Regions from separate parts of the Homo sapiens genome. Here regions 2 and 3 are each linked to region 1. Evidence: promoter capture Hi-C in 16 types of primary human blood cells and fetal thymus (Javierre and others, 2016). All regions are on one chromosome and are shown on one strand. The core of a region is centred on a gene start or on the middle of the fragment in contact, and the rest is flanking DNA. Distances in the headings are between cores, read along the strand shown. Region 1 holds the start of GPC6 (glypican 6). Region 2 overlaps GPC6 (glypican 6). Region 3 overlaps GPC6 (glypican 6).

The links. Contacts are between HindIII fragments. The CHiCAGO score rates a contact against its expected background, and 5 or more counts as called.
Region 2: a contact is called between a fragment that was not itself captured here and the fragment with the promoter of GPC6 in region 1, in 1 of 17 cell types (fetal thymus). The highest score is 6.0, in fetal thymus.
Region 3: a contact is called between a fragment that was not itself captured here and the fragment with the promoter of GPC6 in region 1, in 1 of 17 cell types (M2 macrophages). The highest score is 5.7, in M2 macrophages.

Annotation. Positions count from the first base shown.
Region 1 is chr13:93,224,344-93,228,802 of GRCh38, reverse strand. It overlaps GPC6 (glypican 6), which reads right to left and starts at 1,996. Exons shown (of 9, transcript NM_005708.5): 1 at 1,187-1,996. The coding sequence starts at 1,346. RefSeq lists a silencer at 213-507 and enhancers at 561-1,403, 3,810-4,459. The HindIII fragment of the contact is 13,324 bases long and covers 1-4,459 here.
Region 2 is chr13:94,378,235-94,382,693 of GRCh38, reverse strand. It overlaps GPC6 (glypican 6), which reads right to left. Exons shown (of 9, transcript NM_005708.5): 7 at 144-280. Among named protein-coding and RNA genes, the nearest start is that of DCT, 99 kb to the left of the region's middle. The HindIII fragment of the contact is 2,768 bases long and covers 913-3,680 here.
Region 3 is chr13:94,356,106-94,360,564 of GRCh38, reverse strand. The region is part of intron 6 of GPC6 (glypican 6); the gene reads right to left. Among named protein-coding and RNA genes, the nearest start is that of DCT, 120 kb to the left of the region's middle. The HindIII fragment of the contact is 8,212 bases long and covers 1-4,459 here.

The sequences.
Region 1 (4,459 bases), core at 747-3,246:
AGTTATTTGGCAAAAAGCAGACAGAGGCTGGTGGAAATTCAGCGTTTTGACTTGACGATCTGAGGTCACTAAGGACTTCAGCTGCCCGGTTTGAGCAGCCCGCGCCCTCGCAGCATCTCCTGGCCTCCCTCGGCCTCTCTCAGTTCTGTTCTTTAGCAGCCAAAGGATTATCTCTCCCCGACACGTTTCATTCACAGAGCCCCAGAGAAGCTCGGATTCGGTTGGAGCTAAGAGCCGGAAAACAAGCACCCAGACTGCCGCGCAAGTTGTCGGAGACCAAGTGCTACACACACTGGCGCCGAGAGAAAGGGTGGGCGCTCTCAAGCTCTTGGTGGAGCAATGCCAGTGGCCGGGCATGCGGGGGACACGGGGCCCCCGAACCCGGACCCGAATCCCCAGCTGAGCCACCCGCTAAAGTTGGCTGTTCGCTGGCAGACGAGGCCGGCTCCAGACCGGGTGGCAGGGTGTCCCCGGGCCCTGAGTGGCCAACAGCAACTGGGGAAGCACTGAGGAACCCTAACGGGAAAGCCCGCCCCACATCTGAAACAGGCAGCCCGTGAAGTCCCCAAACCAGCCTTGAAACGCCGGCGTCCAGAGGCCAGGTCCCCGGCGAGGGTCCCTCCCAGCCTTGCCCGCCCCCGGCCCGAGCGCCGGGCGCTCTGTCGCCCGAAGGACGGATAGGGGAGAGAGGGGCTGGGGGAGCCCTCCGCGTCTCTCCACCGCCCCTGCCGGCGCAAGGGCGGGAGTGGAGAAGGCGCCACTCAGACTGTGGCGCTGGGCAAACTGCGGTCGCAGTTCTTCCAAGTTTGCCCGAACCAGAACGCGGAGTGAGCGCCCGGCTCGGCTCTCCGTCTGCGCCTTGCAGCCGCCCCGGAGTGACCCGGGCTCCCTGGCCAGCCGGGCCTGAGCCATCAACTAAGGGGTAGAAGGGCGCGAGAGCAGCGGGAGGCGGGAGCCAGGGTGCTCCCGCGTGTGCACACAATGAGGCGGCGGAGACGCACACCTTCCCCCGCCGAAGAAGCCGCAGGAGCATCCGCCGCCCAACACGGAGACGCGGAGTCCCATAGCGGTGGCAGAAAGTGAGCACCAACTCAGCAACAGGGGGAAGGAAGGGGACGCCGGGCGGCCAGTGGGACGTGCGGCAGCCGAGGGCTGCAGCCTGCCCCTGCAGCGCGCCCGCGCTTACCTGCGATCTCCTGGTAGGGGATGTCCGCCAGGCTGAATCCCTTGGCACCGTACGCCTGGCGGACCTCTCCGCAGCTCCGAGCCTTCACATCCGCCCCGGCGGGGAGGGAGAGCAGCAGCCCCAAGAGGGGAAGAATCACAGCCCCGATCCAAGAAGGCATGGTGCAACATACAAATCCAGCTCGGTAAACCCCACGGCCGGTGCGCTCTTCACCTTGCCCCTCAAGCCGAAAGCCCGCCAGAGGCAGCGGCGCGCTCCTCGCCGCTGCCCAGCGTCACCCCCTTCTGCCAGCCGAGGGGACGAGCAGCGCAGCCCTCTGGACTGCGCTCAGCAAACTTTTATAAGCCAGATGGACGATGGCAAGCCAACAAGGGCTGGCTGGGAAGGCTGCTGCCTTGCTCCTCTAGCCCCCAGATGGAAACGGTGCAATCAAAACGAGGAAGAGAAGGAAAAGAAGTGTTTAAAAAACCACCATGGGGGTTCAGAGCTGCAATCCGAGTTCCGAGCCGCAGAATCCTGGAGCGCTGCGGGCTCGGCTCGCCGGAGTGTGCGGCAAAGGTGGGAGCGCGCGCCGGCTCCCCCGGGAGGGAGATGGACAAGCGAGAGCGAGTGTGTATGCGCGCGTGTGTCTGTTGGTGTGAGCTCGAGGTTCTTGGGGATGTGTGTGCGTGGAGGTATGTGTTGGGGATATACGAGATCTAGGGGAAACCTCAGCTTAACACAGGCTGTGGGAGCCTGTGAGAGTCCTCCTGAAATAGGAAGAGAGAAATCCTGGAGACAGTCACTGGAGGCAAGAGGGAAGGAGAAAGGAGGGGGGAGAAAGAAACGTGCTACACATTGCACAGCCGAAATTCACAGGCCGAGTCAAAGGCAAAACCTGGACTGGATCTCTTCCTAGTCGGTAGAAAGGGGAAAAAAAGAAAAAGAAACGTACCTATTTTCTTATTCACTTCACATCCTTTATACCGATCTGAAATGACATCAATAAACAATCTAGAAAGACAAGGTAATTTTAAGTCATTAACATGTTATTAAGCTGTATTTTTATGGAGGTAAAGGATAACGCAGTTCCAATTGTTGCTCTTAATATGTGTCCCTGACCTACTGAAACACAAAGCCAGAGTGGAAATAGTCATAGACGGGAGTTCATGGGTGGCAGAGCACAATCACGGCTCTAACTAGTTGCCTAATTTCTGTTTGACTTTGTTTTTTTCTAAAGGCACACATTACAGACTGGTAGTTCTTAATTTTTAAAGGTTTGGTTCTAGACTCAACAATTTCCCCTTTTTTTATTTCAAATATCTCATAGCCTTCGATCAGAAATCATTATGCTTAGGTTTCTAATGTGTGGAGGATCGGGAAAGCTAACAACCAGACCACAGAAGCAACAAGAAAAGGAGAGCACAAGGGTCAGAGGTGCATAAAGGGACATAATGGGGGAAGGGAGGTGATTCCTTCCCTCTCACTAGATGCCCTCACATAGTAGACTTAACATTTTCTTCCAAGTTAACATAATTCTCAAGTGGAGAATCAATCCAATTTCTTCTTCCTGTCTCCATTTACACTGATGTTCTGTGAACGGGATAAAAGTGAAAATTCAGGTTTGCCTAATTGACTTTGTTATGCTAATGGACGCACTAAAGTCAGCTGGCAGAAGTGTGTGTTGAAACCCAGAGCTCCTGAAACTACTAAGATAGTTTAATGAAAACCAAGACAAAATAATAATAATAATAGTGTTTATTCACTTACGTGGCTATGTGTCATAGGTCAGCACATTATTCACAAACTACTACAAGGTAATGCACAGTTTTGTGGAGCTCACCTATGAAGCTACACATGAAGATGTTTTCCTGATGATGATATGAATGACCAGAATGACTCATGAAGTTTAAATCTTTGAGTTTGTCATTATCATCACAACATATTAGGTACATTGTCTTCCTCTCTTTAATAAATTCCCCCTCTCCTAACCACCAAAAAGACTCTCAAGATTCAACCTCATTTAACCTTTCCAAACGCTTTAAAAATGAAGTCGACTTATTTACAGAGCCACTTTGTCTTCTTCAAACTCATAGGTCAAGACAAAACAAAACCAAAAAAAAAAAAAACAAAACAAAACAAAAAAAAAAACTCCATAGCTAAATCTTTCTGAAAACGCAACACACTTAACTTTTTTTCTCTTAAAATTTTAGCACAGTTTTTTGCTTTCACAATATTTATGCTAACTGGCAGATCTTAAATCACTGAACTTATTTTCCCTCAAGTCGGAAATCAAGATAAAATATATTCTGGTTATGTTTGTGGACAAACGGTGAGGTTGATAGGCTCAGGAATTGCAGTCAAGTTATTACTTCTGTCATATTTGACAACGTGACTTCCTTCAAACTTCTCTTTGTATCATAGTAAAGCATTATGCACTCCAGAGGAAGAGGGTAAAAACACACACTTCCTGTCCTACCACCTTATCCTGGGACTCATTGTAATTTACCCTGACTCAGTATAGCAGATAATTCATTATTTTAAATGGAGGTAAAGGAAGAATGGGTAAAAGCATAGTATATGTGGTTTTAAATTATTTGAAGATCAGCTAATTGTTAAGTATTGAATGAGCACTCAATACAACTTTATAGCACTAGACTATTGCACACCGTCCCTATACTTATAAAATGATCTTAGGATTTGTGGCAAAGATATTACATGAGACGAATGACTAAATAGATTAGTTTAATTCCATCAGGAGAGTCAAATAGTTTAGGGTAGGTTTGTGAACTCAAGTCAGACCAAAGAATTAGATAACTTGCTTTACTGGTGACCTTAACCCTGCCTGGTCCATTTGTTGAGTAATGTCACACTGTTTGCAGTGGTGTAAGAGACAAAGTCAAACATTCCAGTTAACACTGAGAGCCACAGCAGGAGCCTAGACAAGGGATTGGAATGAGAATGGAATGTTATGGAAGTTCCTGGAAGAGGCCTGACCAGACAGGAGAGAGGTCATATGGAGGAGCAGGCATCTGGTTTAGACAAAAAGGTCAGCTAATGGCTGGAATCCTAGCTGTAGTATTCATCTTGTGTGTAGTAGGAAAAAAGAATATGGATAAATGCCATACAAGAGGAAGCAAACGAGGCCAGGCACGGTGGCTCATGCCTATAATCCCAGCACTTTGGAAGGCCGAGGCAGGCAGATCACCTGAGGTCGGGAGTTTGAGACGAGCTTGACCAACATGGAGAAACCCCGTCTCTACTGAAGATACAAAATTAGCTGGGCGTGCTGGC
Region 2 (4,459 bases), core at 1,047-3,546, 1.2 Mb before region 1:
TCAACAGCTGTTGCTAAGTGATGACTTGTCCCTCCACCCTCTGTTGCTTTTTGCATAAACAGGTTTGTAGAGTTGTGCCAGGAGAGTCTTCCAAGGCTGGGTGTGCTGTGCCCCCATCCATGCACACATCGAGTCACCCTCACCTGGCTTTGCTGTGCCCGTTCCAGCATTCCTCCTCGTTGGACGTGCCCGCTGTCACGCTCTCGTCCTTGCAGATAGTGTAGGGTAATGCTGACCAGACCTTTTTAGAGAGCTTCAATTTCTCTTTTATGTCTGTGACCTGATCAAGAAACCAAGGAAAGCAAGTGAGTATTCTGCTCAGGCTTTCCCCATTTCTACACAAGGACGTACGCAGGCGAGGGTTATAGAACCTGTGATATGACCAGCAGGAACTCTTTAACAGTTTTAAGAGAGAGACACTGCACTGCAGGGTTTATTGCCCGGGAAAGCCTCCTTTCCTCTCCCTCAGTCCTCCTCTAGACGAGAGTTCTCAGGTAATTGGCTTTTTGTTTTCCATCTTTTCTGTCCTTCAATCCTTTGAATTAAAAACTTACGAAGCATCACGCCTGGCTTCGGGTCCCTCTCCTGCTGAGAGTCCCTATTGTGAACACCCCAAGTATAGTCTCTAGAATTCATTTGCTTGCATGTCAGACAACTGTACCAAAACAAATGCACCAAGAGATAAATACTTTTCCCAATGGACTCCTTGTTTCTGCAAAAAATAAATATTGCCACTAATTCAGCTGCTGGTACTTATGCTCTAGTGCAAATGACAGGCCCTTAGAGCACACACATGGGTGGTAAGCAATAAACCAAACCCTCTTAAAAATCTCTAGAACTGAAAGAGAAGTCATTCTAAATACGGGTAAGTGTAAAATTCACAGCCCTGTGGATGGATGGCCAGGAAAAGCTTAGTGCCAGCATCTTAAGTGTCTTCAGGCTGAACACTGACTTTTCACTTGCAGAAAGGGTAGGAAGAGGAATTTAATTTCATTTTGGCTTCATAATGAACATTGGGAAAGTCCAGAGATGGCTGGAATGCATCTGTTATGAATTGAATTCTTTTCCTCCCCTTAACGTGTTAAATTCCTAACCCTTGGTACCTCAGAATGTGACTTTATTTTGAGATAGGGTCATGACAGAGCTAAAGAAGTTAAAGTGAAGTCATGTGGGTGGGCCCTCACTCAATATGATATGTGCTGATAAAAAGGGGAAATTTGAGCACACAGACACACACAGAGGAAAGAAAATATGAAGAGACACAGGAAGAAGATGCCCATTTACAAGCGAAGGAGAGAGGTCTAGAAGGGATCCTTTCCTCCTAGCCCTCAGAAGGACCCAACCCCGCCGACACCTTGATTTCAGACTTCCAGCCCCAGAACTGTGGGATAGTAAATGTCTGTTGTTTTAAGTAACTCAGTTTGTGGTACTTTGTTATGACGGCCTTAGCAAACGAATACAGACGTAAAAAAATGTTGAGTCAACATTTGATGGGGAATGGGATATTTACAGAATCTCAAAGTACCTAGTAACACAGATTATTTATTAATTACAAAAGGAAAACTAGTAATTTTACAGTGTGGAAACTTGGCAGGCTGCCACCTTCATCAAGTGATGAAGCAAGGGGACAAATTGGTCACTTGTTCCTCCTGATGTGATGTCCCAAGATGGACACATCACTTAGGCAGCCCCAAATTTATAATCTGAATCTAATCATGAGGACATATCAGACAAACCGAAACTCAGGGGCATTCTGAAAACCAGCTGGCCTCTACTCATCAAAAATGTCCATCATAAAAGACAAGAAAAAGCTGAAGAGTCCTTCCAGATGAAGAATAAGAGACATGATAGCCAAATGCAGCAGAGGGCTCTGGACTAAATGCTAGGTCAGAAGGATAATTGCCAATAAAAGACATTATTGTGATAGTGGGCAAAATTTGTATGCTGGCTCTCTATTAGATAATAGTATTATGTAGTGTTAAATTTCCTGGACATAAAATCATACTGTGGTAACACAGGAGAATACTGTACTCTTGGGAGACACACGCTAGAGGATTTAAAATGAAAGGGGTATAATTTCCACAACTTGCTCTACAACAGCTCAGTAATAATCAAGAATAACAATAAATATACAGATGTATAAAGAAAAAGAGAAAAGGTAAATGTGGCAACTTTTTAATATCCGGCAAAGCTAGATGAAGAGTATAAAATTTTTCAAAAAATGCAATTTTCAGTTAAGTTTGACTTTTTTTTCAAAGTAAAATGTGAAAATGTGAAAAACAATTTCTCACATTTTATTTGTTCTACGTAGTGTCCACTTTGGTGCCCTAACCTCCATTAAAGGCGTGCCCACAATAGGCCACTCATTCTTACTCTTTTCAAAACAATCCTCAGAGAAAGAAATACATGTTTTATATTTATATCTGGTTCAGAAAATGACCACGACCTTTAGGACTGAAATACTGTCAGGTTTATTCTGTCCCATAATAAAATAAACTAAGAATGAGCATTCTCTTTCTTCTGATTTTGTACTACAATCCTACCTCCACGTTATGGGAATCTAAACCAGATACACAGATTTTGAGACTCAGATAAAGAACAAAGTTGCATGCCGCCCCACAGGTGTCTCCTTTCAGTATGTGCAGAATTTAATGGTGGATGTTGCACTACTCATTCTTTAAATTATTCTCAAACGTTGTCTTCTTCGGGGTGCGTTCTTGGGTCCCCAGCTTAGATTTAGATTCAGCTTTCTGCGCTGCGCTATGCCCTCTTGATGATTCTAACTACTGATCACTCCAAACTCTAATAATTGGCTTATTTTTCTGATTCTCTTTTAGACAACATGCTTTTTGTTGGCAGAAATAGGGTTGTAATTTATCTTTATCCACAGTGTCCAGTATGGGTCAAGTGACTAATAGTCCTATTTGCCACAGCTTAGGGGATTCCAGGGTGACGAGTTTTCAGCACTAAAATGGGAACGTCCCAGGTAAACCAGGATTAGTTGGTCACACAGGTCTAAGCACACAGTACATGCTCAATAAATGTTGGTTAAGATAATGGATTGAATTGTCCCATTCTATTACAAGGTCATAGACTGTATGGTTAACACAAATTAGCTGGGGTCACAATACTGTGTGTTCATCGTCCCAAGAGGGGTGGGAGAAAACTGTGGGGTTGTATTTGGCTAAGTGAGGAGCCCGTCGCGATGATGGGGATGTGGGTTTTCTCTCATTGTTTACCCCAGCACATTTATAATCAGAGTGTGTTCCCTCTGGCATTTCAGTAGCTGTGCGTTTTCATTGTGCAGTTGAAGGAGATAACATCAAAGGAGCAGTGAGAAATGTAGATGCCGTTTTAACATTCTGCACGGAAACACTGGCCAATTCACCTGCAGACGGTGATGGTGAGGCAGACGGCTGAAAAAATGGACACTATTAGCCACTGGAAAAGAACATGCCTTTGATTCATTTATATCTGAATGATGGCAGTTTATTTTTCAATATCAGGAAGGCCTTTCAACTTGCACATCATTTAGAAATGTTTTTCTCATTTTATTTATTTATATTTCTGAATAATATATGTAACTGCTCTGCTGTAGCTCCGGACCTGAGGTTTTTGTTTTTTTGTTTTTTTGGTTTTTTTTCCTGGAAACTTAAGTGCACACAACTGTGAATTAAGCTTTATGTTAACAAACACTCTTAGTACAAATATATTACTGACAATGACAGTGAGCCCTAATTCATTAATAACACACCAGATGGGAACAAGGACTTGGGATAAAATACAAAATTTAGAACAATTTCCTTTCTCTGATTCCTGGATGAGCTATTCTAGGACAAATGAACTCTTACCAATACTTGTGAACAGTATTTACGATCGCTCCAATATTGTATTAGTAATGCTGTAATATTAGTAATCCCAGTAATATTTAAGTATTACTTTTTTCATCTATGCTATTGATAGATTCTGGAAGTTAAACAACAACTACTGTTATGTCTCTGGAAACTGATCCAAACATATACTGTTGGGGTCCATAGGAAAAACATGAGCCCTCTTTTAGGATTTATCTGGAGCTGATTCTGATTTCTGATAATTGCAACTTCTGATGTCAGTAGAGACAAACACTCTTAGTTTAAGACCTGTCAAAAGGACCATGAACACTTGACTCTATTAGGAAGAGAGGGCATCCTTCTCATACCTACCATTACAGTACTGTAAAATTAGACAAAAGAGGGAGGAAGGTGACAAGGTGGAATGATTGCTAAAAACAGAATAGCAAAGCCAATGACCAGAAAGAACTATCTAAGTACTCTTCTGTGACAAATTCACCTAAGAATTAATCTTGCTCCAAATATTTCACCTGAATCCCATCAAGTTTCTGACTTAAAAAAATCAGTTTACAGGAAATACTGGCAATAGAGGAAAAAACTAAGTAACACCATAAATAATCAGACACATC
Region 3 (4,459 bases), core at 1,416-3,915, 1.1 Mb before region 1:
TTTGAGTAGCCTTTCCTAATTTTCTAAACCATTTCTAACAATGCCTATGTCTAGAACCCTCCAAACAAATACAAGACTATACATTTTTCAAGATAACATTTTAAATCAGCCCATCTTCCTTTAGGAGGTCCAAAGACAGATGAATCAAATGCTATTTGCCCAATTATGCTTCTGGTTATGTATAACAGTGGATTATACTGTCCCTGAATCAATCAATCAATCAATCATCTATCATCGATCAGTCATCTATCATCTGTCTTAACTATCAGCGGAAATAATAATTTTCAGGTGGTGCTAAGAACATTCTAGATGCACAATACCATAAAACTTATGCCATTTCTCTAACAGGCAAGTGTGAAAAAATGAAAGTCCTAAAAACTCCTCCTGGCTTTAAAATGGAAAAAGAGTTCCCCTTCTGGATTTTTTATTCATAAAACAGCACAGACCAACTCCTCCCCTGGGTTTCCATGACAAAGGGAGAGTTTTCCCATAGGGCTGCATATGTAGGCTGGAAAGCCAGCCCTACATATTTAATGGTCTGTATCTAACAACATTGCATTAGAAATCCTCTCCTTGAGACTATTTCTCTTATGAAATGAAAAGTAGTAAAGAAAACAAAATTTTCACCACCCTGCCATAGGAACCCATGGGGACTTGAAAGGGCTTTGCATTTTCCTATTACATTGTACTTGGGAATAAGGTTGAGAAGCCAGACAGTAAATCTGATTCAACCAAATCCAAAGCGCTTGGAGGAATCACCTTTTTATTGCAGATAAGTATAAAAACAGTACTGGAAGCACACTGGAATCTGAAAGATCAAACGCCAGGGGCTTTCTGTTAATAGATTTGGTAGCTAAGCAGTGGTATTTAGAAAATAGCCTTTATCTCTTCAAAAAAAAAAAGGTCTCAGCAAAAGGAGCTCTGAATGTAAATAATTAGAATGATTTGTGTCAAGTTAGCCTCAATATTAGGTTGCTTTTCTATTACTTCTTTGACGAGCCTTATGTTTTATTCCTGATGCACTGGAAAGTCATAGTATAATGATCATGCTGGCATGTGAGGTTACACTGTGAGTCTTTCTGAACAGAATGGAACCCTAACCTCTCAATTTTTCCCCTAGATTAATAAATATAAAATTCACTGATATTATTTTTTGTATTTTTCTCATTAGAAGCTACTTCTGAATTTTTATACTATGCCATGGTGATCCATAAATGACAAATTCCAATATGCTTCATGCTCTTTATTATTCTTTTTAGTATAATTAAAGGAAAGTTAAACAGTCTTTTGAAAATAGTTTTCATTTTATTTCTTCAAATTATTTCCTATGTGGAAAACCGACCTTCTTTTTCAAGCCAAATCACAAATATTTAAAAAAGGCCTAGTGCATTTTCAATTTGCTTCTTTTGTCCTCAAAAAGGTAAGAGGGTTTCTCAATGTTTTTTCCAAAGATAACTGAAAGTGGGGTGTTATTTATCCAAGTGCCTAAATGAGATATACCAGTAAGTTCCCCTTCTCCATTATTTATATGGTCGAGAGGAAAGGACAAACTTCAGAGGAGCTAGAACTTTTGTCCAGAACTTGATTTTACTTTTTTTGGTCCAAAAAGGTGACTCCACAACAAGAAGAGACACTTAGAAATCTCTTTCGCTTGACATTTTAAAAACAGTTTTTTTCTGAAAACAAAGCCATTAGAACAGGCTTTCCTAAAACATGATGAAAAAGAGGATTTCAGGAAAAACATGCTGAGTATCCTAGAAAATCATGGAAACTCTGTAGTCATCTTTACAAGGAAAAGAGCTTTTCCCTGATCAAAAATGGTTAAGGCATAGGTGGTCCTGGGGTCACCATGCCAAGGTGTTCACACAATGTGCTCTCAGTACAGACACAGGTACTAGACCTGCAGTCTGGAGATTCGCACTCTTAACTTGTATCCCCAACTCATCCTGATACACGGGAAATCTGAAAACTCAGACCCATGGGGTTAAAGAGTAGACAGTGTGATCTCTCCAGGGCAAGCTCAACCCTGTGACTTCAACTTTGTTTTCTTTCTCTGAAAGGTCTTTTAATTTTCAGATTTAGTCTAGCTTTTTATATCCATCTTTTCACTTCTTCTAAGCCTATAGGTCAGGTTCTCATGACCAATGAATCTGATTGCAGTAATTAAAAAAAATCTGTCTTTATTTTCTTTACTTAGTTTTTTGAATATGTAGTACTGCTGCCATAACTTAATTCATGGTCCTTTTTCTTTTTTTCCTTTTTCTTTTTTTTTTTTTTTGACGGAGTCTTGCTCTGTCGCCTAGGCTGGAGTGCGGTGGCACTATCTCAGCTCACTGCAACCTCTGCTTCCGGGTTCAAGTGATTCTCCTGTCTCAGCCTCCTGAGTAGCTGGAACTACAGGTGCATGCCACCACACCAGGCTAATTTTTGTATTTTTAGTAGAGATGGGGTTTCACCATACTGGTCAGGCTGGTCTCGAACTCCTGATGTCAGGTAATTCACCCTCCTCGGCTTCCCAAAGTGCCATGGTCCTTTCTCTTAAAGACCAATGGCAATGGCTGTATCGCTGCATGTGTTCATGCATTCAGTCAACAAACATTCATTAAGGGTTTTCTCTGTGCAAGATACCGCATTAGGCATTGGGGCTACAAAGATGAAAAGACATCGGTTCTACTTTCAAGGAGCTTTCTCTTCTGTGGAGGTATAGACATAAAAACAGACAGTAGTACAACGTGATGTCAACATTGACAAGAACTGAGTTGAGAAGAATGAAAGCTGAGTGTAGAGTATGTATTTTCAAGAGCAGAAACCAGTGACCCAAAGTTAATTAAACTGAGATCAAATGGGAAAAGGTAAGGGCACTTACACCACAGTAAAGGGGATAGGGCATAACAGGTTAACTCAGGACCAGTGAAAATAGACACATGGTGGTGGTACCTTAGGGCTGTGACCACTTAATGAGAAAACCAATCAATTTCTAGGGAGGGTTCAAGGAGCGAGGGAGGCATTCTCAAGGCCTGGGTACCATCAGTTGGCCAAGAGTGCCGCAGAATTGTGTGTTCACGCTGTATCTTACAGGCGATGCATGCAGCTTCTGATGGATAAGTATTACCCGCGGAGCATCAGATGGTCCAGAGGTACAGAGTAGGGGTCCTGGGTCTGCCAAGTAGGGGCTCTAGGGAGAAGCTCCCACAGGGGTCTCTCTGTCTCTCTGAGCTGATCTTGAAGAGTGAGCTGGTGTTGGGGCTCCCAATCAGATGGAGCCCATGTTGAAAGGCTCATGTGGACCAAACCCACTAAGGGTTTGGAAAGTAGTTAGTTTGGTGCAACTGAAAGGCAAAGTGCATATGTTGGAGAGGCAGGAGTTGGGGCCAGAGAAGTGGGCCAGGAGATCCTACAGGGTTTTATAGTCTACTGTGAGCAGTTTAGTATTTTTTCTGGAGAATCATTGAAGGGTGCTAGAACAGCCCAGGTGGGGTCCAGAAGGATACACAGGTATGGCGCTGGGAAAGCCAGGTGGGGTGGGCAATGGTCCAGATTGATGACAGGGGACAGACGAGTGGTGTCTTGTTCACATCTATCAATCATGGATTCTTAACTGGCAACTCCATGACACATTTTCCATTTTAAATGCATTATTTCATTTTTACCTTTTCTTTTTTTGAGACAGGGTCTCACTCTGTTGTTCAGGCCAGAGTCCAGTGGTGCAATCCTAGCTCACTGCAGCTTTGAACTCCCGGGCTCAAACAACCCTCCCGCCTCAACCTTCCAAGTAGCTTGGATTACAGATGCATGCCACCATGCCCAGCTACATTTTTCATTTTAATTAGGCTCTACTTCTCACAGAGCCCTATTTCCCTTTCCACGTGCTCCCTGCCAGCTCAAGCCTTTGCTTATGTTACTTGCCAGAAGTAACTTCCTTCACCAGGAGTGATGGCTCTTCTCTTAGCCTATCCACAGCTGCTTCATCCTTTCAGGCAGATCATGCAGATAAAGTAAATTAGAGAAGCGAGCTGAGTTTGTTTGTTCATTCATCAAACATCTACTCTTTTTCAGGTACTCTCCTAGGTACCAGGGATGAAGTAGTGAACAAAAGAGGGCAAAAACCCCTTCCTTTATGGAGCCTACATTTGCATTACAAGATTCCAACAACAAATGAAATAAACCAGTAAAATATATAGCATTGTGGAAGAGAGTGTGGTGATTCCTCAAAGACCTAGAACCAGAAATGCCATTTGACTCAGCAATCCCATTACTGGGTATACACCCAAAGGAATATAAATCATCCGGTTATAAAGACACATGCACGCGTATGTTCATTACAGCACTATTTACAATAGCAAAGACATGGAATCAACCTAAATGCCCATCAAGGATAGACTGGATAAAGAAAATATGGTACATGTACAGCATGGAATACTATGCAGCCAGACAAAGGAACAAGATCATGTCCTTTGCA